4 separate regions of the Homo sapiens genome follow, and regions 1, 2 and 3 are each linked to region 4. Evidence: promoter capture Hi-C in 16 types of primary human blood cells and fetal thymus (Javierre and others, 2016). All regions are on one chromosome and are shown on one strand. The core of a region is centred on a gene start or on the middle of the fragment in contact, and the rest is flanking DNA. Distances in the headings are between cores, read along the strand shown. Region 1 overlaps CHST12 (carbohydrate sulfotransferase 12). Region 2 overlaps MAD1L1 (mitotic arrest deficient 1 like 1). Region 3 overlaps EIF3B (eukaryotic translation initiation factor 3 subunit B). Region 4 holds the start of INTS1 (integrator complex subunit 1).

Region 1 (5,367 bases), core at 1,870-4,369, 900 kb after region 4:
AGTTCCAGGATCCCCAGCTCCCGAGGGCCCCCGTGTGCCTGCTGTCACCTGAACGGGGCTCCCCGGCCCCGCCGACCGCAGCCCTGGAGCCTGCAGACGCCAGCAGCACCGGCAGGTCGCTCAGGGTATCCCTTAAATGACCTCTCACTCCAGAAGCCGCAGCCCTGCCCCTCTGGGAGAGGAAACCGTGCATTTAGTCCGGGAACAGTGGGACTTAGACCTCCTCTGCGGGCTCCCGGCCACCGAGACACCGCCGGCAAAGCCTTGGCTCGGGCAGAGGCTCCGTCTGGCAGGCAGCACAACAAGCCATAGTGTTTCCAGCATTATTAAATTATTTAGTTCATAAGCGGGGCTGTGGGGACTCGGAAGCCCCGGGGTGAATAGGAATGTGAGTTGCAGGCGCGGTGCTGGACGCAGTACATCTTCCAGGACACCAGGCCCTACGGTGCTGTTCCCGGCTGTGGGTGGTTGGGGACAGCTCAGCGGGTCCCCCACTTACCCCCACGCGGGGACCCGGGTTAGCCCCTCACCGTGAGCATCTGGTGTTGGGAGTCAGGGCTGGTGTCTGAGTGAGGATGGAGAGAAAACAGGGGTAATGAGGAGATTGCTACACGAAGGTGCAACGCTTGAGATCTGAAAGAGCACCTGCCTGGAATGGCATAGATGTTTGATTTCCCTGCAAAGGAGTTTATGGGACTTTGGGCTGACGCTTTGGGGCCAGCAGTAACTGTCTGCTGTCACTCAGCTGACTCCAGCTTTATTATCAAACCTCCAATCGAGTGCAAGATGCTAAGCTGGGGTAGATGCCGGTAATAGCGTGGGCCTTGCCCTGGGAGCTCACGGCCAGCCTGGCTACAACTGTGTGGAGTTGAGACTGTGGTGCAGGCGTTAACAGAATGTGGCGACATTTTCCGACATTTTCCACAGTGGAGAGGACCTATGAATTGGGGCGTTTGGAGGCAAAGGGCATGCAGAGATGTGGAAGTGAAAGTGATGTTTGGGGGAGATGGTGGGTCGCCGTGTTCTTGATGAAGTGGGGTTTGAGGATTGGGTTGGAAGCTAAGACTGGAAGGCCGGGCGAGGTGGCTCGTGACTGTAATCCCAGCACTTTGGGAGGCAGAGGCGGGCGGATCACCTGAGGTCAGGAGTCCGAGACCAGCCTGGCCAACATGGTGAAACCCCATCTCTACTAAAAATACAAAATTTAGCTGGGCGTGGTGGTGCACACCTGAAGTCCCAGCTACTTAGGAGGATGAGTCAAGAGAATAGCTTGAACCTGGAGGCGGAAGTTGCAGTGAGCCGACACTGGGCCTCTGCACTCCAGCCTGGGCAACAGAGTAAAAAAAAGACTGGAAAGATGGGTTTCTGATTGTGCAGGGGCCTGAATGCTGTGTGAGGGAGTTTAAACTTTTATCCCTTTGGTGGTGGTTTGGGTGCGACGCGATTAGATGTGTTTCAGAAAAGTGGTCGTGGTGAGAATATGGGAGGTGGGTTTTGCCTCTGGGCAGTGGAGCTGAGTTGAGTAGCCTTGTGGGGCGTGGGTCTGGGGCAGTGAGAGAGTGGGGGCGGGCATGGAGCTGAAAGATGTTGCCAAATCCACTGGGCGGTGGCGCTTTGTGAGATGTGGCGACCTGTAACAGCGAGGGCAGCCGGGACTTCTCACCTGCGATGAGGAGCGCTGCGGCCAGGTGGGAGAGGAAGGGCCACACAAACACACGTGGGTTTTAGACCTGCAGAGTTGGCGGTATTGGTGGCCATCCTGGAGGAGATGTGACCTGGTGGAGAAGAGACAGCCTGTACAAGGAGGGAATCCCCAGGAACCCCAGTGGGAAGGGATCCAGAGCTGAAGAGAGGCCCGTTGGTTGGCTGACCTTGGGCGTGCAGTTCCTTGACTACGCACAGTCATTGAGGCTGGCAGGTGATTCTCTTCTAGTGTGGGTCAGGGGCTGAAGGAGCCATCAGTGGGAAAAGACGGGTTATTGATGATACTGAAACACATGCGGCTTGTTTGTCATTTAAAAAAACCGTACATCTTGAGTTTCGATTCTTAAGTTGTCTTTCTTTTCGGAGAGTAGCTGTTAGTTTCACACTTGCTTAGTGGGTCTGTGGCTGCAGGCGGGACTGTGGTTCTCCAGCCCTGGCCCACAGATGTGCCTGGAGATAATTGACTCTCCAACTTATTACTTCCTGCTGTTAAGGTGGTGGTTTCTGTAACTGTTTAGAAACTTTAAAGATATTTCAGAGAAGAATGGGAGACAGGTACAGTTGAGTACGGGGTGGGGGCACAGTTGAGTATGGGGTGGGGGCACAGTTGAGTACGGGGTGGGGGAACAGTTGAGTATGGGGTGGGGGCACAGTTGAGTACGGGGTGGGGGCACAGTTGAGTACGGGGTGGGGGCACAGTTGAGTACGGGGTGGGGGCGCGGTTGAGTATGGGGTGGGGGCGCAGTGCTGAACAGGGCACAGGAGGAGGAAGCGAACAGGGACCCTTTGGCTCCCAGAACATGACCAGCTGGGGCTTTTCCCTGTAGACAGGAGGATGGATGTGTCTTTGGGGAATCTGAGTAGCCCAAGAGAAAAGACCTAAAATTAATGACATCAGGAGGTCCCCAGTCAGCAGACCCAGCTGGATCCCTTGCTAACGAAGCCCGTCATTAATAACCCCCTCCCAGTGTTCAAGGCATCAAGCTTTAAAAATCCCCATCCCTTAAATATGAGCAGATAACCAAGGGCATCTGAAGAAAACCTCTGCTACAGGAGATTGAGACCAGAATACACACTGGGAAACCAGAGAGCGTGCAGGAAGGAGCCTTAGAAAGCAGGCTGTCATTAATGTCCACGCGGAGGTGAGCGAAAATATCGCGAACATGAGGCAAGAACAGGAAGCTCTAAAAAAAAGCCACCAAAAGGAGTATTCGAATATCCAAAAAGAGAACTCTCGGATGTAAAAAAAAAAAATAAAAGCAGAAATAAGAAAATCAGTTAGTGGGTGAAAGATAAAGTTGAGGAACTCCCTCAGAAAGTAGAACAGAAAAGCAACGAGGTGGCAAATGAGAGAAAAAAGAAACGGAAAGGATCAGATCAGGAAGTCAGCAGCTGAATAGTAAGAGCTTCAAAGCTGAGGTGAGAGGATCGTTTGAGGCCAGGAGTTCAAGACCAGCCTGGGCAACATAGCAAGACCCCCATCTCTACAACAAAATTTAAAAATTAGCCAGGTGTGGTGGTGTGCACCTGTAGTCCCAGCTACTTGGGAGGCTGAGGTGGGAGGATCACTTGAGCCCAGGAGTTTGAGGCTGCAGTGAGCTGTGATCATGCCACTGCCATCCAGCCTGGGTGACAGAGCAAGACCCCATCTCTAAAAAATAAAATAAAATACATTTTAAAAAGTTTCCAGAAGAAAAAAATAGGGAAAACAGGATGAAATTCACAAAATAATTTCCTAGAACCCAAACTTTCTGGGTTAAAGAGGCTCACCCAGTGGCCAGTACCACGGGTGAAAATGCAGGTATCCTTCACTTTCATAGCCTCTTCACTTCTCAGCTTGGATATTAAAAGCTTGGGAAGGCTGGGTGTGGTGGCTCATGCCTGTAATCCCAGCAATTTAGGAGGTAGGTGAATCACTGAGGTCAGGAGTTCGAGACCAGCCTGGCCATCATGATGAAACCCCATCTCTACTAAAAATACAAAAATTAGCCAAGCATGGTGGTGGGTGCCTGTAATCCCATACTCAGGAGGCTGAGGCAGGAGAATTGCTTGAACCCAGGAGGCGGGGGTTGCTGTGAGCCCAGATCGTGCCACTGCACTCCAGCCTGGGCAATAGAATGAGACTCCGTCTCAAAAATAAAATTTAAAAAATTAAAAGTCTGGGCAGCAAACTTGGATAGTGAGAGAGGCTGAGTTTCAGATAAAGACTAGTGAGAGCTTGGGAGGGGAAGGATTTATTTGAAAGCATGTCTGCAGCTGTTGACCCCAGAATTTGGATAGTGAGAGTTCAGAGGCCAGGCGCTGTGGCTCACGCCTGTAATCCCAGCACTTTGGGTGGCCGAGGTGGACGGATCACTTGAGGCCAGGAGTTTGAGACCAGCCTGGCCAACATAGTGAAACCCTGGCTAATACAAAAATTAGCCAGGTATGGTGGCAGGTGCCTGTAATCCCAGCTGCCCAGGAGGCTGAGACAGGAGAATTGCTTGAACCTGGGAGGCGGAGGTAACGGTAAGTGGAGATCATGCCATTGCACTCCAGCCCGGGCAACAAGGGTGAGACTCCGTCTCAAAAAAAAAAAAAAAAAAAAAAAAAAAAGATCCTTGCGTACCCTCTCCAGGACATACTGTTGTGAAATCTCAGAACAAGAGGAGAAAGTAAAAACAAATCACAAATAGGTCATCACAGGTCAAGAGGCAGAAGGTTAGAACATGTGGAAAAAGGCAGAAGAACTAACTACAATTAAAATGAAAAGAAGCAGAAGGGCTTGGGCTTTTTCAAAGCAGCACTGGGTGGCAGGAGACGGGAGGGCCTTGCTTGAGAAATTCTGAAGGATGCATTTGCAGCCTGGAAGTCTACACTCAGGCAAGGGAGGGTAGGGTAAAGACAACTTCAGACTTGCTCCCAGATTTGTTCCTCATGCTTTAAGGAGGTGATTGGCAGATGTAGTCTCCCCAGATGAGGCAGTAAGTCTAGACTGAGAGAGACTGGCTGGTGGGAACAGGATTTCCCCCAGGTGAGAGGTGAGAAGAACCTGCTGAAGGGAAATCCCAGCCAGGTGCTGGTGTGAAGAGCAGACATGTCCTGACCCCAGCTGGTCAGAGGCTCCAAGAGGAGATTCTTTGGGAGAAGATGAAATTAGCAGGACACCTGACATGCTGCAGCATCTGGAGAGGAGTTGATACAGTTGGCAGAGTTGGGGCGGGATTAGTGATAAGTACTAAACAAAGCAAATGAAAACACAAGGCTGTTATTAGTTCCAGGGAAAATAAACCATCGTGCGGGAAACGAAAAATAATTATGGTGTACTACAAGGCGCAGCTGTGGATAGCCTCGCCGCAATGATAGTAATTTATGTAAACACTGACTGCTGCTCTAATTGAAATTATGATGCACCTGGGCAGAGAAGGTGTGGGGAGGAGAGCGCTGCATTTTCGCCTGTCGCCTTGGGAAGTCAGTCGCTAATGCCCCAAGCTGAACAACCAAGGTTCACTCTGAAGGCAGACATTAAAAGAATTAGCTAAAAAGAATTATGGAGCGGGTAGGGCGTGGTGGTTCGCACCTGTAATCCCAGCACTTCAGGAGGCCGAGGCAGGAGGATTGCTTGAGTCCAGGAGTTCAAGACCAGCCTGGGCAACATGGCGAAACCCTGTCTCTACTGAAAAT
Region 2 (4,710 bases), core at 1,231-3,730, 690 kb after region 4:
AGCTGATGGGCTTCATGCCCGCACATGTGCTGAGTTCCGCTCAGGCTAAATGGATGGCAGCTCCCAACAGAATCCTTTCAGTGCCAGCATCGGGCTGATCAGCTCACAAAAATGCAGGATCCAGCTGCATGGCACCATGTGGCCAGCCAGATGGATGGAGGTTATTGAGGGCACAGCTCACCATACTCCAGGATCAGCCAAGCATTCCGGCAACAGGGCCACAAATTCACTGGATGCCCTTGGGCCAGTCAGCCCCTCCCAGAACCCAGCTTAGTCCACAGGGTTCTGAGGAAGAACGAATGAGACGCTGATTATCAACAGGCTTTGTCAACTACACAGCAGCTCTCCAGAGCCAACCACCACCGTCAACAGTGCCATCCTGCCAGCAAAGTGAAGACCCTCTTGAGAACAGGCTCTGTCTTTAAACAAATAAACTCTAGAAACTCTTGTAAGCCACCTGTTTCCAAACCAGGGAAAACGTCTGGCCTTCATTCCCACCAGCGTCATTCATATCCAACAAGGCCGTCTCCAACTAAGATACTCCCGCAAAACGCTCCTGCGGCATCTTCCAAAAGATTGCATCTGAGGAGGCACCCCTGTTGTTTTCATTGTTTAAAGCTGTCTGTGTGTGTGCACTACGTGGGCAGACTGTGCTGTGCTCGTCACAGCGTCGCCAGAGCCAGCCCAAAGCCTGGCAAACGGCAGGTCTCCAAATAAATGTTCAGATGAACAAACAAACGAGCGTCTCCAAAATCACAGTGCTACCCACAGACACTGTGGTCACAAAGGAACAGGCATTCACCTGAAGAGGAAACAGAAAAACAGGGAGAGTCTGGCCTTCAACACGAACCCTCTTCAGAAGTCAGAAGGCCTCGGGCTCCCTGCTCACAGGAACAGTGCGGCTCAATTCTAACTCTCACTACAACGCGGCTGACTCCACGGCTCCTACTCCATGAGGCTCTCAACTGACAACAGGAAACACCGCCCACCCTCCCCACACTTCGGGGCTGCTGAAACCTGCAGCGGGTCAGACAGCCCCAGGGACTTCCACCAGCAGGGTCCTGCCAAGGCGCCAGGTCCTCGCCCTGCGAATTCAGTGAGGAAAGAGGCCCCTTCACAATTGGCGGATGTGCTCCTCCCTGATGAAGACCTTCTGCGGCTCCTGTGACCTGCAGGACGCGGTCCAAACCACCCTCAGGACAGGACAGATCCCTGCCAACCTGTCCAGCTTCTGCCACATCCCAGGAGAACTGTGGTTAGAACCAGCTGGAGCCACACAACACTGTCCGAACACGCAGCATCTGGCCAACCTGTGTGCTGCCAGCACCCACCCTATCTGGAACATGCTGCCAGCCTCTCAAGTGTCATCTCTTCAGGAGCCACGCTTGACCTAGCAGACATATGCCCGGCTAGATCTGAGAGGACTGGAAAACAGCCCCTGACTTATAGCTGTATCCCCAGCACCCAGCACCAGGCCTGCACACCTATGTGTTCAAGAAGCACTCACCAGTGAAGAAGAGGAAGAAACCCCACTGCTCTGGAGGCTTCTAGCCTCTCCTCACTCCTCCTCTCATCTCCCGCCCCGACCCACGCATCACTCCGCCGACGCCTGGTACACACGACGTGCACTGCACAGCCACCTTCTCCCTGCACACGGGCCCAAGCTCGGACACAGGCACGACCAGGACTGGCGGGCTGCAGAGCTCTCTGACCCGGTGAGGCACTGGCCCTCAGGCTCAAAGCCACCTGCAAACGCCAAAATCCCTCCAGACTCGGGCCAGCTGTCTGCTCCTCTGGCTCTGCCACTCCCCTAGGCCGGCTCATCCCTGCCCCTCACTGGGCAGGCCAGCCCTAGGGCTCCTCTAGGAGCCATGCAGGCCTGACATCGGCTGCTGTCTGACACCTCCTTCTGGCTACATCACTGACACTTCAAACACACATTCCCAAAACAGAGTTCACAACCCCTCCCTGCCTGAGAGCCAAAACTGGTCCTAGCCCCCGGGTCCCAGCCCCCAGGTCCCAGCCCCCAGGCCCCAGCCTGTGACTGACCCCATCTCCCTGCACCCACAGGGCCCATCAGCCCCTCCTCTAAGAGCAGGCCTGGGAACAGGCCCAGGACGGGGCAACCACACCCAGTTCTGCCCCACAAGCGCCCCCGCTCATCCCAAGGTCCACCATGAGTTTGGGTTTTTTTTTTTTTTTTTGGAGGAAGGGTTATCTTTATATTTTTATTTTTAAAAATAGAGATAGGGTCTCACAGTGTTGCCCAGGCTGGTCTTGAACTCCCAGGCTCAAGCGATCCTCCCACTTCAGGCTCCCAAAGTGCTGGGATTACAGGTGTGAGCCAAGGCACCCAGCCCAGCGTGGATTTGTGCCAGGAAGAGCCAGCAGGAGCTGACCAGCCCCATGGAAGCCTCCAGGCCGGCTGCCTGCTCTCATCTCCCAAGAGCCCGCCTTTGCTTCTGCCAGCCACTCACGCTCTCCACAGGCTGCAGCCAGGTACACACCCCCCTTCAAGCAACAAAACCACTGCCTGAGCACCTGGCCTGCTCTAAGCCCAGGGCTGAGACAAGGGGGAGCCAGCCACACACAACACCAGGAGCGCTGGCATCGCCGGAGCAAGGAGCCCGTGATGGCCGTCCACCCGGGACAGCAATCGCGCTCTGCGGCACGAGGCTTTCAACAGAGGCGAGTGCTTCCTGGGGGTCAAGAGCATGGAACACACACTTCAGGCCCCCTCTCCAGGCTGCAGGCCAACAGGCGTCCATGAGACAGACACTCCCTGATGTGTCCCACTCAGTTCTCCTGCCGCTGAGTGACTCTCCCAGGGAGGCCCAGAGCCACATGCTCTTGGTAGCCCCTACTCCTCCAGGTGTTAAAGCAGGTGCCCATGTACAGTCCACAAGCACAGGCCATCAGGCTGGGCAAGGATGGGCAAGGAACCAGGCCCCTGCCCTTTGAGGCTCAGGAGCTCCAAGCTACAGAATAGGGTTCCAAAGCTCCAGCCACTCGGAGGACACACAGGCCACAGGAAGCCGGCGACCAGTCCACAGAGAGACGCGCTGTGGGGCCCGACAGGCTGAGGTCAGGCAGTGGGATCCCCCCTTCACAGTCCTCCCGGCCTTGGGCGGGGCTATCCAGGAGGGGGCTGCCCCTCCCTGCCAGAGTGCACTGGGGCCTGTATGATGCCAGCCTGAGAAAGATGCGCAACTCCAGCTCCACCTGCACGGAGATGCCCCACAGCAGATCCCTGCCAAAATGGCATTTGCAAAGCGAGGAAACTGAGCCCCAGGAAGGCCACAATGATCAAAAACGGTCTCACTGCAACTTCCAGATACATTTTCTAGGCCTCTGGTTTTGGCCTTTTTAAATGTTGGCATATGGACTAAGGAATGGAATACCTAACTGCTCTCCAAGAAAGGAGTTTGTTACTTCTGGGTCACAGATTCCACACGTTCACCTTTCTGGCCTTCATACCTCACGTGTCACAGCCAAGACTCCTAGGAGGTCCCCTGCCTGCCGTCATGAAGGGCGCCTGCAGCCTGGTGCGCCACCCCCACATGCCCTGCACGCGGCAAACCGCTCAATAAGGACTGCAGTGAACACTTTCTTTAAATCATTGATGGTTTTCTTAATCATCTTAGAATCACTCTGCTACACGGATGTCCCTGGAGTTTCGATTCCTAAATCAGCAGTCTTCCACTCCGCATCCGCGCCCCCGCAGTGCCCCGCCTGGCACGGGCAGGGGTGCCTCCCAGACAACGGAAACCAGACGAGGGCCAGGCCAGGCAGACACACCGGGCAGCCACTGAACTGCTGGGCCAAGACCTCCAGCCTCCCAAACCCAGATTCCTGGTCCTAGGAGACGGCTTTCTCAGCTGCAGCCCAGACTCCGCGGTAAGGCCACAACCCAACCCACCACCCACCTAGGTGCTTCCCAACGCCATGCTGGCCAGCAGGGCCCACACTCCGCACCATCCAGGTCAGCTGGACCAGTCCCCAGCTTAGGGCAGACAGTGAAGCCTGGATGAAAGGGATGGGAGAGCCCCCTGCAGTCACTGGTGACAAATCCCCCAGAGTTCCAGGAAGCCACACTCACAAAGGCCCGAGGGCAAGGGAGGGGTAACTGCCCAACACTCTCCATGAAGCCAAGGGTCTCAGAGCTCTTCCCACGCCTGCCCTCCATCCTCCACCCCTCCCGGGGCGCACCCACGACAGGTGGAGGGTGAAGAGCGGGACCAAGGCCTGCCGGCCAGGTGTGCACCACCCTACGCTAACATAGCACGCGGGGCGCCCACCCAACCACCCCACACCCGCCCCGGGCCGCCTGCCACCCTGGAATGCAGGGTGGACACTTGCGTTCACCTGGAACCTCTTCTCCACCTCATCCACATCCTCCTCAGGACTCCCCACCAGACGAAAGTCCCATGGCAACAGCCGGATCTTGTTCTCCACTGGGCCCCCGACACCAGGCACCAGGCCTGCACACAGGGGGTCTAAGGAAGGTTCGCTGGCCTGGCTCGGAGCCCTGCTCCTCAGCACCTGGCTGTGTAACAGAGCCCCAGGGTCCACACACAGCTGCCAGTGAAGGTCTCTGCATTCTGCCCAGGTAAGACACGCACACGGTACTTCCGATCGTGGGAGATCAGAGCTCTCTGCACCTGGATAACAGTGGAAACATCGTCAAACAAAAGCCAGGAAAGTCAGATC
Region 3 (4,791 bases), core at 882-3,381, 860 kb after region 4:
TCTTCTGTGCTGATCTTGGAGAAACCGGAGCGCCTGCAGCGTATTGACACCAGAATGAACAAGCGCCGCTGCTTCCCGCTTCCGCTTGGGTCTCTTGGGGCCGGGCAGTGTGGGGTTTGGGGAGAGAGCTGGTTCCGCGAGTTCTGACGGCGTGTTCTGGCCGCACAGACAGACTGTGATCCTCTCGTGAGAGGAGGATAGTGTACAGTGTTGCCCTTCTCTTCTAGGTACCTGGTGACCTTTAGCCCCCTGATGGACACGCAGGATGACCCTCAGGCCATAATCATCTGGGACATCCTTACGGGGCACAAGAAGAGGGGTTTTCACTGTGAGAGCTCAGCCCATTGGCCTATTTTTAAGTAAGTGGACCATTGTAACGAGCTCTGTAGCCTTTGTCTTTTCATGGGAATACCCTGGCACTTTTGTTTTTCTTAGGTGGAGCCATGATGGCAAATTCTTTGCCAGAATGACCCTGGATACGCTTAGCATCTATGAAACTCCTGTAAGTGGCCTCAGTGATGGCAAACGCCCCGTCCGGTCCTTGCTTGTAACCGGGGTGTGGTGCCTTTCCTTATTTGTGCTAGAAGAGGAGGAGGAGGTTTCACAGATGCATAGGAAAGGCCTGTCTCCTGTGCCTTTTTAACTGCCCCTGCTCTGGGCAGAGCTCTTCAGTCACTCCTGCCCACCTGGCGCAGCCGTGGGAAGTCCTGGATGGGAGTTAATGCAGTGGGCTTCAGAACTGCAGTTCTGGGTGGCGGGTGGGTGGATGGGTTCACTGTCACGCTCTGTGTGCACTGCCCCCTAGGCAAACTCACATCAGACTCTTGTTTCCTTTTGTAAAAAGTTAGGTGTGTTTCTGAGACACTGACATGATTTGACTCAACTGCAGCCTTCCTTTTTTTTGGGCAGTCTATGGGTCTTTTGGACAAGAAGAGTTTGAAGATCTCTGGGATAAAGTGAGTATTCTTATCAGTTTGGTGTCTTAGTGTGTTCAGGCTGCTTAACACAATACCAAAAAAAAAAAAAAAAACACAATACCATAGGCTGGGTGGCTTATGACAGCTGAGATTTCTTTCTCCCAGTTCTGGAGCTTGGGAGCTTGAGGTCAGGGTGCCTGCAGACTGTCTGGTGACGGCCCACCTCCCTCCTAGTGGACAGCCCCTCGGTCCAGCCTTCCCTGGAGGAAGGCCTCCGTGGCCTGTTCTGTAAAGTCTCTCATCTCATTCCCAAGGGCTTCCCCCTCAGGACCTCCCACCCCCCAAAAGGCCCCACCCCATGCCGTCACCCCAGGGGGTTAGAATTTCACCCTGTGAATCTGGGGGACACAGACGTGGTCCATTGCAGTTGGTTTCCTTTATTTGCTGTCTCTCCTTTAGCACTCAGCTTTTTGTTGTTGTTGTTAGAGACAGAGTCTCGCTCCGTCAGGCTGGAGTGCAGTGATACGATCTTGGCTCGCTGCAACCTCCACCTCCTGGGTTCAAGTGATTCTTCTGCCTCAACCTCCCGAGTAGCTGGGACTACAGGCATGTGCCACCAAGCCCGGCTAATTTTTGTATTTTTAGTAGGGATGGGGTTTCACCATGTTGGCTGGGCTGGTCTCAAACTCCTGACCTTGTGATCTGCCCGCCTCAGCCTCCCAAAGTGCTGAGATTACAGGCGTGAGCCACCATGCCCAGCCTGTCACTCAGTTCTTAACCAGTTGGAGAGAAAACGGTGAGTTTGTTCTTTTTTTAAAATTTTTTTTTTTTTTTTTTTTTTTTTTTTTTTTTTGAGGCAGAGTCTTACTCTGTCTTGCAGGCTGGTGTAGAGTGGCGAGATCTTGGCTCACTGCAATTTCCACCTCCTGGGTTCAAGTGATTCTCCTTGCCTTAGACTCCCAAGTAGCTGGGACTGCAGGTGCCTGCCACCATGCCTAGCTAATTTTTGTATTTTTAGTAGAGATGGGGTTTCACTGTGTTGGCCATGCTGGTCTCAGAACTCCTGACCTCAAGTGATCTGCCCACCTCAGCCTCCCAAAGTGCTGGGATTACTGGCGTGAGCCACCACACCCAGCCATTTTTAAATCTTTTTTGAGACAGAGTCTTACTCTGTTGCCCAGGCTGGAGTACAGTGGCGTGATCTCGGCTGACTGCAGCCTTCACCTCCCAGGTTCAAACGATTCTGGTGCTTCAGTCTCCTGAGTAGCTGGAATTACAGGCGCGCAACCACTACGCCCAGCTAATTTTTTGTATATTTTAGAAGAGTCGGGGTTTCACCATGTTGGCCAGGCTGGTCTCGAACTCCTGACCTCAAGTGATCCGCCTGCCCGCCTCAGCCTCTCAAAGTGCAGGGATTACAGGTGTGAGCCACCGCGCCCGGCCTAAGGTGAGTTTGTTCTGGACACAAGGATGGAGGCTTGAGTCAGTGGGCAGCAAGGCTGCTCAGCATTGGGCCCGCCACCCTTGAGGCACCACTTCAGTGACCCCTTCCCGTGCCTAGAAATGAATTTTCAAGGCCAGAGCCTTGAGTCGGCTTCCTTCCATCTACCTCGTCTTTGATCTAGAAACTGAGGAGGGTGGGGTTTCCAGCCTTTTAAGGAAAAGAGGGGACTCTGCTTAGGTGAAAGGTTTTCCTGGTACTCTTCCATCCGAGGCAGGGTTTGGGGAGCCTTCGGCTCATTTTCACCAGCAAAGAATGGGCACGTTTTTATTTATCGCAAAACTTGGGACTGGTCAGTATCACGGCAGTGAACTTCCAACAATCCAAGGACATTGACGTTTCTTCTTTCGTTTTTACATTCTTGGGCAAAATTATGGCTTATAAAATGAAAAGACCAGGACGTTGGTTCTCAAAAAATGCAAAACAGCACATAGCGTGTATAAAGATGTTTTTCATGTAGGTGAGCTCAGGAGCCGTTCGTTACAGCAGCTCTTCTGTAGAGTAGTTGATAAAGTGGAGGGAGCTGCCCTTGTTCTTGCTCATTCCTTACACTTGATTTGCCATTTTCCCCATTTGCACCTTAATTAATCTTTAGATGACATGTAGCCAGATCCGTCAGCCTAAAACTTATTTGCCTCAAAGCAGCAGTGTGCGGTGTCTTAAGAGTGGGCTGACGGAGCCCAGGCTGGAGTCCATATGAGTCTGTGCGTGATGGTGGGGTTGCTAATATTCTGTCTGCATTCACTCCTTGTCACAGTGAGCACAGTAGTGCCACAGGGTCCTGGCGAGGACCTATGAAGCTGCGCGGCATGCCCAGAGCAGTGGCTGTGCAGAGGGAGCGCTCAGCGTCAGCTGTGACAGCATTGAGCTTCTATATAGCAAATGAGTTGTTCTATTCTCTTCTGCTTTTCAGTTTCGTCATCACTTGGTCTTTGCTTTAACATTTTATTTTCCTGTTCTGCAGAGACTTTTCTTGGTCTCCTGGTGGTAACATAATCGCCTTCTGGGTGCCTGAAGACAAAGATATTCCAGCCAGGGTAACCCTGATGCAGCTCCCTACCAGGCAAGAGATCCGAGTGAGGAACCTGTTCAATGTGGTGGACTGCAAGCTCCATTGGCAGAAGAACGGAGACTACTTGTGTGTGAAAGTAGATAGGACTCCGAAAGGCACCCAGGTATGTAGATTCCCACAGGAACTGACGATTCCTTATCCTGAGCTCTGAAGTGGCCACCGTATTGTTTGGAGGGTGTTAATGGATTTTTTTTTTTTTTTTTTTTTTTTTTTTTTGAGATGGAGTCTCACTCTGTCACCAGGCTGTAGTGCAGGAGTGCGATTTCGGCTCACTGCAGTCTCTGCCTCCTGGTTTCAAATGATTCTTCTGCCTCAGCTTCCCAAGTAGCTGGGACTATAGGCGTCCACCACCACGCTTGGCTAATTTTTGTATTTTTATTAGAGACAGGGTTTCACCATGTTGGCCAGGCTGGTCTTGAACTCCTGACCTTAGGTGATCTGCCCGCCTTGGCCACCCAAAGGGCTGGGATTACAGGCGTGAGCCACCGTGCCTGGCTGAGAATATTATTTTCTTTCTAAGCACAAGGAGTAGTATACTCAAGATTTATTTTTTTATTTTTTTATTTTTGGTGGTTGATCATTTAATATTTATTTTATCAAAAAATTGCCTGAGTTGGCTGGGTGTAGTGGCCCATGCCTGTAATCCCAGCACTTTGGGAGGCCGAGGTGGGCGGATCATGAGGTCAAGAGATTGAGACCATTCTGGCCAACGTGGTGTGAAACCCCATCTCTACTAAAAGTACAATAATTAGCTGGGCGTGGTGGGAGGCTCCTGTAGTCCCAGCTACTCGGGAGGCTGAGGCAGGAGAATCGCTTGAACCCAGGAGGCAGAGCTTGCAGTGAACAGAGCGAGATTGCGCCACTGCACCCCAGCCTGGCGACAGAGCCAGACTGCGTCTCACAAAAAAAAAGAAATTCCTGAGTTTTCCCTCTAATAGAAGTATTCTTCTTTCTTTTATGTTAAGAAAGCTTTAATTGACATGTAGTTCACATGCCTGAAAACACCCCTTTAGAGTGGTGAACTGGTTCAGTGGTTTTTCGTGTGTTCAGAGTTATGCAGCCACCACCACTCATTTCAGAACGTTTTCATCGGCTGGGTGCGGTGGCTCCCCCGGGGTGGGAGGGAGGATAGCTTGAGGCTAGGAGTTTCAGACCAGCCTGGGAAACACAGTGAGACCCCATCTCCACAGATAATTTTTAAAAGATAGGAAAAAGGCCGGGCACGGTGGCTCACGCCTGTAATCCCAGCACTTTGGGAGGCTGAGGCGGGGCATCACAAGGTCAGGAGATCGAGGGTTTAG
Region 4 (5,089 bases), core at 1,684-4,183:
CAGCCTGGGACATTTACCACAAATGGCTGGATGCAGCCATCTCTCTGTTTTGCTGAGAATAATACTATAAAGTGATCTACCACTCAGAATACGCTTTTCATAACCACGTCTCCTCTCATCTTCAAAACCTCCTTTCTACAGGAGGTAGTGCTAAAGATAAATAAAGCACCGAGCCGCCGGCGGCCGAGAGCCCGGGCCAGGATGAGGCCTGTGGTCTCTGTCTTCAATCCCCACCGGCACCAGCTGCCCAGGGACACGCCTCATGGGAGGTCTGAGGCTCGACCTCCTAAAGCAGTCCCCCAGCTGTGCCATCCTGGGCCGTTTGCCCCCAGGGCTCCCTGATGCCAACTGAGTCCAGCACAAACACTGCCCACAGCGCCCAGCCTCAGCTCTCATGAGCGTGTGCTGCCCAGGCCAGGCCAGGCCTCCATTCCCTGGGCACAGTCCATTCTCTGCTTGGCATCTCCCTTTCCTGCCTGCCCCGGTTTCATCGCCTGTGCTTCCAGGCCCAAGCCCATACTGCAACTCCCTGCCAGGCCTCCTCCCTTCCAGGGCCGTCGGGGACTCACTCACAGGCTTGCACTGCAGCAGCCTGGTCCCTCCCTGAGGGCAAGGCCACAGCCCACAAGTCCCCTGGGTCCTGTCTGGCACAAAACTCAGTAACCAGAGGTGGCGCGGCTTGAACAGACACCTCACTACCAAAGTCATCAGGACACTTGTTCTTTTTGACTCCTACAAAGAAATTACCCAAAAGAGATGCTCCCACAGAAACAAAACACTGCAGACCATGAGGCTTGCTGGGGCTGGTGCGATAGCTGCCAGAGCGACTCCCAGGGAGTCACGGAGCCTTGAGAAATGGTCGTTGGGAAAATGGCGCAGAGGGGCAGGGGCGATTCTAGGCACACAGTTAAAGGCATTTCTGCGAGAACGGGACAGTGGTGAAGCTTACATTCCCCCGTTGATGTCCTTACTGTTCTGCTGCTTTTCAACTGAAAACAGGGAGGGGATCAACTCTTCTCTGTTGGTAACCAGGAGGGAAGGAGGAACCAAGTACACATCGCCTCCGCTCAGGTTGAGAGAGGAACGCACCAGGATGGGCAACCTTGAGAACAGACACCTGGGGTGTCGTCACGCCCGGTTTACCCCCAGGGCTCAGACAGTGCCCGTCACAAAGGGGGCGTCCAACAGACACATGAGACAAACAACTCAATAAGGGAGTGACCCGGTTCTCAAAGGGCAGCCACTGGCAGTGCAGGACGCAGATGCACACACGGGATAAGGGCATCTACGTGAGAAGCACTTCCAAGAACAAGCCACAAACATCCGCTCTCCCAAAGGACCTCGGCCATACGGGCAGCACTAGGCCTGGAGGGGGCCTTCCCTGAACACCTGATGGACGGCATGAGCTGAGGGGTGTTCTCGGGGGATGTCCACAGACTCATTACCTTCAATTGGCACCACAGATGGCTCTTTAATCGACGGAGAAATGGCTCGTTTTTCTGCCACTGCAGCCTCAGCCAGGCGCCCCAGGGCACTCAGAGGGGGTGTGGAGGAGAGTTTGGGGCGTTTGGTGAGACCGGTGAGGGCCGAGGCACTGGACAACGCGGCCGCCGCATCCCGCTTGCGCTCAGAAGGCAGGCCGGAAGGGGCTGGCTTCAGCAGGGTGGACGCCGTTTTCGATTCATTGGCCTGACCCTTTGAGCCCAGAGCAATGAAGTCTCCTGGGGGAGGGTGCCCTGCAGAGAAAGGAGAGAGAAAACCGGGCACATTTGCAACACCCAAGATGGAAAAAGACTGACTCTAACCTCCTGTTATGTCAGAGGGGATTAAACAAGGGTCAGAGGAGGCAAGGAAGAAGCCAGAGCTCACTCAGCAGCCTACAGCAGAGCTGGGACCAGCAGGATACGCACAGGTGATGGTGGACAGTCACGTAGCGCTAACCACAAACCAGGCCATCTCTGGTCTATCCAAATTAGTGTGCTTAGTAACCCCCGCCCCGAGTTTCCGCAATAGGTGCTATTACTCTAACTTTACAAGAGAGAAAGGGACACAGAGAGGTTAAGCGACGTGCCCAGCGTCACACAGCAGGCGAGTGGCAAAGTCCGGAGGATCTGAGCCGACAGTTCAGCCGCAGACCCCGTGCTACGCTACACTGTGCTGCCTCCCGCCTCCTGGCTGGGGAGACCTTCCGCTACTGTCGGCCGCCTTGCAGCTCAGCCTGAAACGAGATCACCGGGGTCCCGAAGGAAGTCGCCACTGTCCCAAGCCTCCCAGGGACTCTCAGAGCCGCTGAGGACCGAGAGCAGTGTTTCCAGACCGAATTCCTGGAAACAGCCGCGGCTGCGGAACAACCAAGCCCAACGCAGGATCCGCGGCAGCTGAGATCCCCAAAGACCCCCAAAGACCCCCAAAGACCCCCGGGCTGCAGAGCGAGGAGGGAGACGCACCTGAGGGTTTGGCCGCGGCGCTGGGCCGGCGCACCGTGGTGGGCTTGGCCCGGTTCATCCTGCCCCGTCCCTCGCGGCTCCCGGCGGCTGCGGCGTCACCTGCGGAGGAGCCAGCGTGCGGTCATTCCTTCACTCATTCGCTCGTTCGCTCGCTCATTCGCTCCCTTGCCGCACGGGGCTTGGGCCTGGGACCCGGGGACAGTGGTCCCGCGCCCGCCCGGCGGGGCGATGCTGCAGGAGCTGCAGGGACCCCGCCTCCCAGCCGCCCGGGAGCGGCTCAGTCGGGCGGCAGCAGGCGACGCGGACGCCGGGCTGGAGGCGGCAGAACCAGAAGGGACGGCCCAGAGGCCGGGAGCGGTAGCCGGGAGAACCAGGCGCTCGCCCGGCAATGAGGAAGCGCCCAGGCCGCGGCTCACTTACCTCTGGCCCATCGCGACCGGAGCGCCGCCGCCGCCACCCGGCCACCCCGGAATCGGAAACCGATCTCACCGCCCTCGAGGACCCGACTTCCGGAACAACCGGAAGGAAAACAGTGCGGCGGGAAGCGGGCCCAGAAGGAGGCGCGAGAGGCCCGCGGCGCCGGCCTGATGCCTGCAGCGCCCCATGGCGGCGGGAGGCGGGCTGGCCGGCGCCGCGCGCATGTGGTCCGGTCCAGGTGGGTCGGCGGCGCGGGGCAGGCGCTGGCCTCTCCATTCACAGGTGGTGCTGGCGTTGCGAAGGGACGCACTCCAGGACGCACGGCGGGGAGGAGTGGCGTCAGGGATCCGCGGATGAGTCAAGTGGCAGGTTCTGCACGTCCCGGAGAGCGGGGGCGGCCGGGGCGCAGGCACTGGCGAGGGGGCGCAGCCCGGGGGGCTCCCGGGGAGAGACCCTGTCTCAAATAATAATAATAATAATAATAATAGCTTTATTGAGATAGAACTCGTGTTCCACAAAGTTCACCCTTTTCTTTTTTCTTTTTTTTTTTGGCACGGAGTCTCGCTCTGTCGCCCAGGCTGGAATGCAGTGGCGCGACCTCGGCTTATTGCAACCTCCACCTCCCAGGTTCAAGCGATTCTCCTGCCTCAGTCTCCCGAGTAGCTGGGATTACAGGCGCCCGCCACCATGTCTGGCTAATTTTTTTGTGTTTTTAGTAGAGACGGGGTTTCACCATGTTGGCCAGGCTGGTCTCGAACTCCTGACCTCAGGTGGTCCGCCCGCCTTGGCCTCCCAAAGTGCTGGAATTACTGCGCCCGCCCCGCCCCCACGCCTTTTTTTTTTTTTTTTTAATGGAAACACTGATGGGAACAAAACTCAAAAGACACAAAAGATCATACAGTTGCCAGGTGTGATGCTCATGCCTGTAATCTCAGCACTTTGGGAGACCAAGGCAGGAGGATCGGTTGAGTTCGAGACCAGCCTGAGCAACATAGCAAGACCCCCATCTCTACAAAAAAATAAAAATTAGCTGGGCATGGTGGCATGAACCTCTAATCCCAGCCCTTTGGGAGGCCAAAGTGGGAGTCTGAGACCAGCCTGGGCAACATAGTGAGACCCTATCTCTACAAACAAAAATCAAGAATAAATTAGCCAGGCATGGTGGTGCATGCCTACGGTCCCAGCTACTGAGGAGGCTGAGGTAGGAGGATCTCTTCAGCTTGGGAGGTCAAGGCTGCAGTAAGCTATGATGGTGCCACTACGCTGCAGCCGGCCGACAGAGCGAGACCCTGTCTAAAAAAAAATAAAAATAAAAGGTGGGGGAATCATCCAGTCAAAGGGTCGAAGGTCTCCCCTGACCCCTGAGCAGCTGGTCCCCTCCCCTGGAGTCAGCCTGTGTTCTGATTTGTGCCTGTGTTCCCGGCTTTTCCGTGTGCGTTCAGGCAGCCACCCGTGTGCCTCCCTCTGCCTTGTCACCCTGCAGGTAGCGCACGGCTCCTCTTTTCTGCACCTGGCTTTTGCCACTTAACCACATCTTGGAGATCTGTTCCCAGCAGGGCACTGACTCGAACGCTGCCCCGCCACCGAGGGAGTCCTGAGCACCGCCTGCCCGGTGTGTCCCATCTCCTCATCCAGGGACCGCAAGGCAGAGCTGGTCTCCCTGTGCCCCTGAAGTTGGGTGTGGCCATTTGACTGTGGCCTCAGTGAGGCTCATGGCCCCAGGCTGCAGCCTGAGAACTGCTGTGTGACCCGCCACGGTCTCTTTCCACTCCTGTGGGCACCAGCTGGGTCCCCGCAGGACCCCAAGGGCTCCAGGGCCCTGCACCCTGCGCTGTGTGGGCAGCGAGTCCGGAAGGAGACGTCCGTGGTGCCCATGGGAGGAGAGGCCGGTCAGGCGCGGATCCCTGCCGGACGCCAGGCGGGGGCTGTGCGGCTTCATCCCTCTACAGTTTCTCAATCTGTCCCTCAGGGTAACTCTCTAAGGGGAGGGGAGATCCGATGGGGTAATGCTTCCTCCTCCTGTCACCTGAATGGGAGCACCCTGCACAGAGCTTCCTCTGCCCCGCCACCTGCCTCTCCTCATCCTCTGACCAGCATCACCGCCCCTGCATGCGGGGCCTGTGCCTTCGGCAAATGCCCTCACCCGGGCCCAGGCCAGAACCTCAGGGTCGACCTTGAGAACAACTACCTCCTCCTCCCCCTCCCCCTCCCCCTCCCCCTCCTCC

The links. Contacts are between HindIII fragments. The CHiCAGO score rates a contact against its expected background, and 5 or more counts as called.
Region 1: a contact is called between a fragment that was not itself captured here and the fragment with the promoter of INTS1 in region 4, in 4 of 17 cell types (naive CD4 T cells, naive B cells, non-activated CD4 T cells and 1 more). The highest score is 5.2, in naive CD4 T cells.
Region 2: a fragment that was not itself captured here is called in contact with the fragment with the promoter of INTS1 in region 4 in 3 of 17 cell types (M1 macrophages, M2 macrophages and M0 macrophages); the score reaches 8.8 in M1 macrophages.
Region 3: a contact is called between a fragment that was not itself captured here and the fragment with the promoter of INTS1 in region 4, in 3 of 17 cell types (total CD8 T cells, total CD4 T cells and naive CD4 T cells). The highest score is 6.2, in total CD8 T cells.

Annotation. Positions count from the first base shown.
Region 1 is chr7:2,404,092-2,409,458 of GRCh38, forward strand. All of the region lies in intron 1 of CHST12 (carbohydrate sulfotransferase 12), which reads left to right. Among named protein-coding and RNA genes, the nearest start is that of CHST12, 3.2 kb to the left of the region's middle. RefSeq lists enhancers at 1,917-2,036, 2,887-3,006, 4,644-4,703, 4,714-4,833. The HindIII fragment of the contact is 867 bases long and covers 2,687-3,553 here.
Region 2 is chr7:2,195,897-2,200,606 of GRCh38, forward strand. The region is part of intron 10 of MAD1L1 (mitotic arrest deficient 1 like 1); the gene reads right to left. It overlaps LOC105375126 (a long non-coding RNA gene), which reads left to right and starts at 3,822. Exons shown (of 3, transcript XR_001745062.3): 1 at 3,822-3,897. The HindIII fragment of the contact is 6,509 bases long and covers 1-4,710 here.
Region 3 is chr7:2,366,090-2,370,880 of GRCh38, forward strand. EIF3B (eukaryotic translation initiation factor 3 subunit B) reads left to right here. Exons shown (of 19, transcript NM_001037283.2): 7 at 228-359; 8 at 436-502; 9 at 910-956; 10 at 3,383-3,593. Among named protein-coding and RNA genes, the nearest start is that of EIF3B, 14 kb to the left of the region's middle. The HindIII fragment of the contact is 4,651 bases long and covers 1-4,457 here.
Region 4 is chr7:1,501,456-1,506,544 of GRCh38, forward strand. INTS1 (integrator complex subunit 1) reads right to left here and starts at 2,934. Exons shown (of 48, transcript NM_001080453.3): 1 at 2,868-2,934; 2 at 2,448-2,546; 3 at 1,446-1,736. The coding sequence starts at 2,505. RefSeq lists a silencer at 2,580-3,139 and enhancers at 4,026-4,622, 4,248-4,437, 4,623-5,089. The HindIII fragment of the contact is 9,546 bases long and covers 943-5,089 here.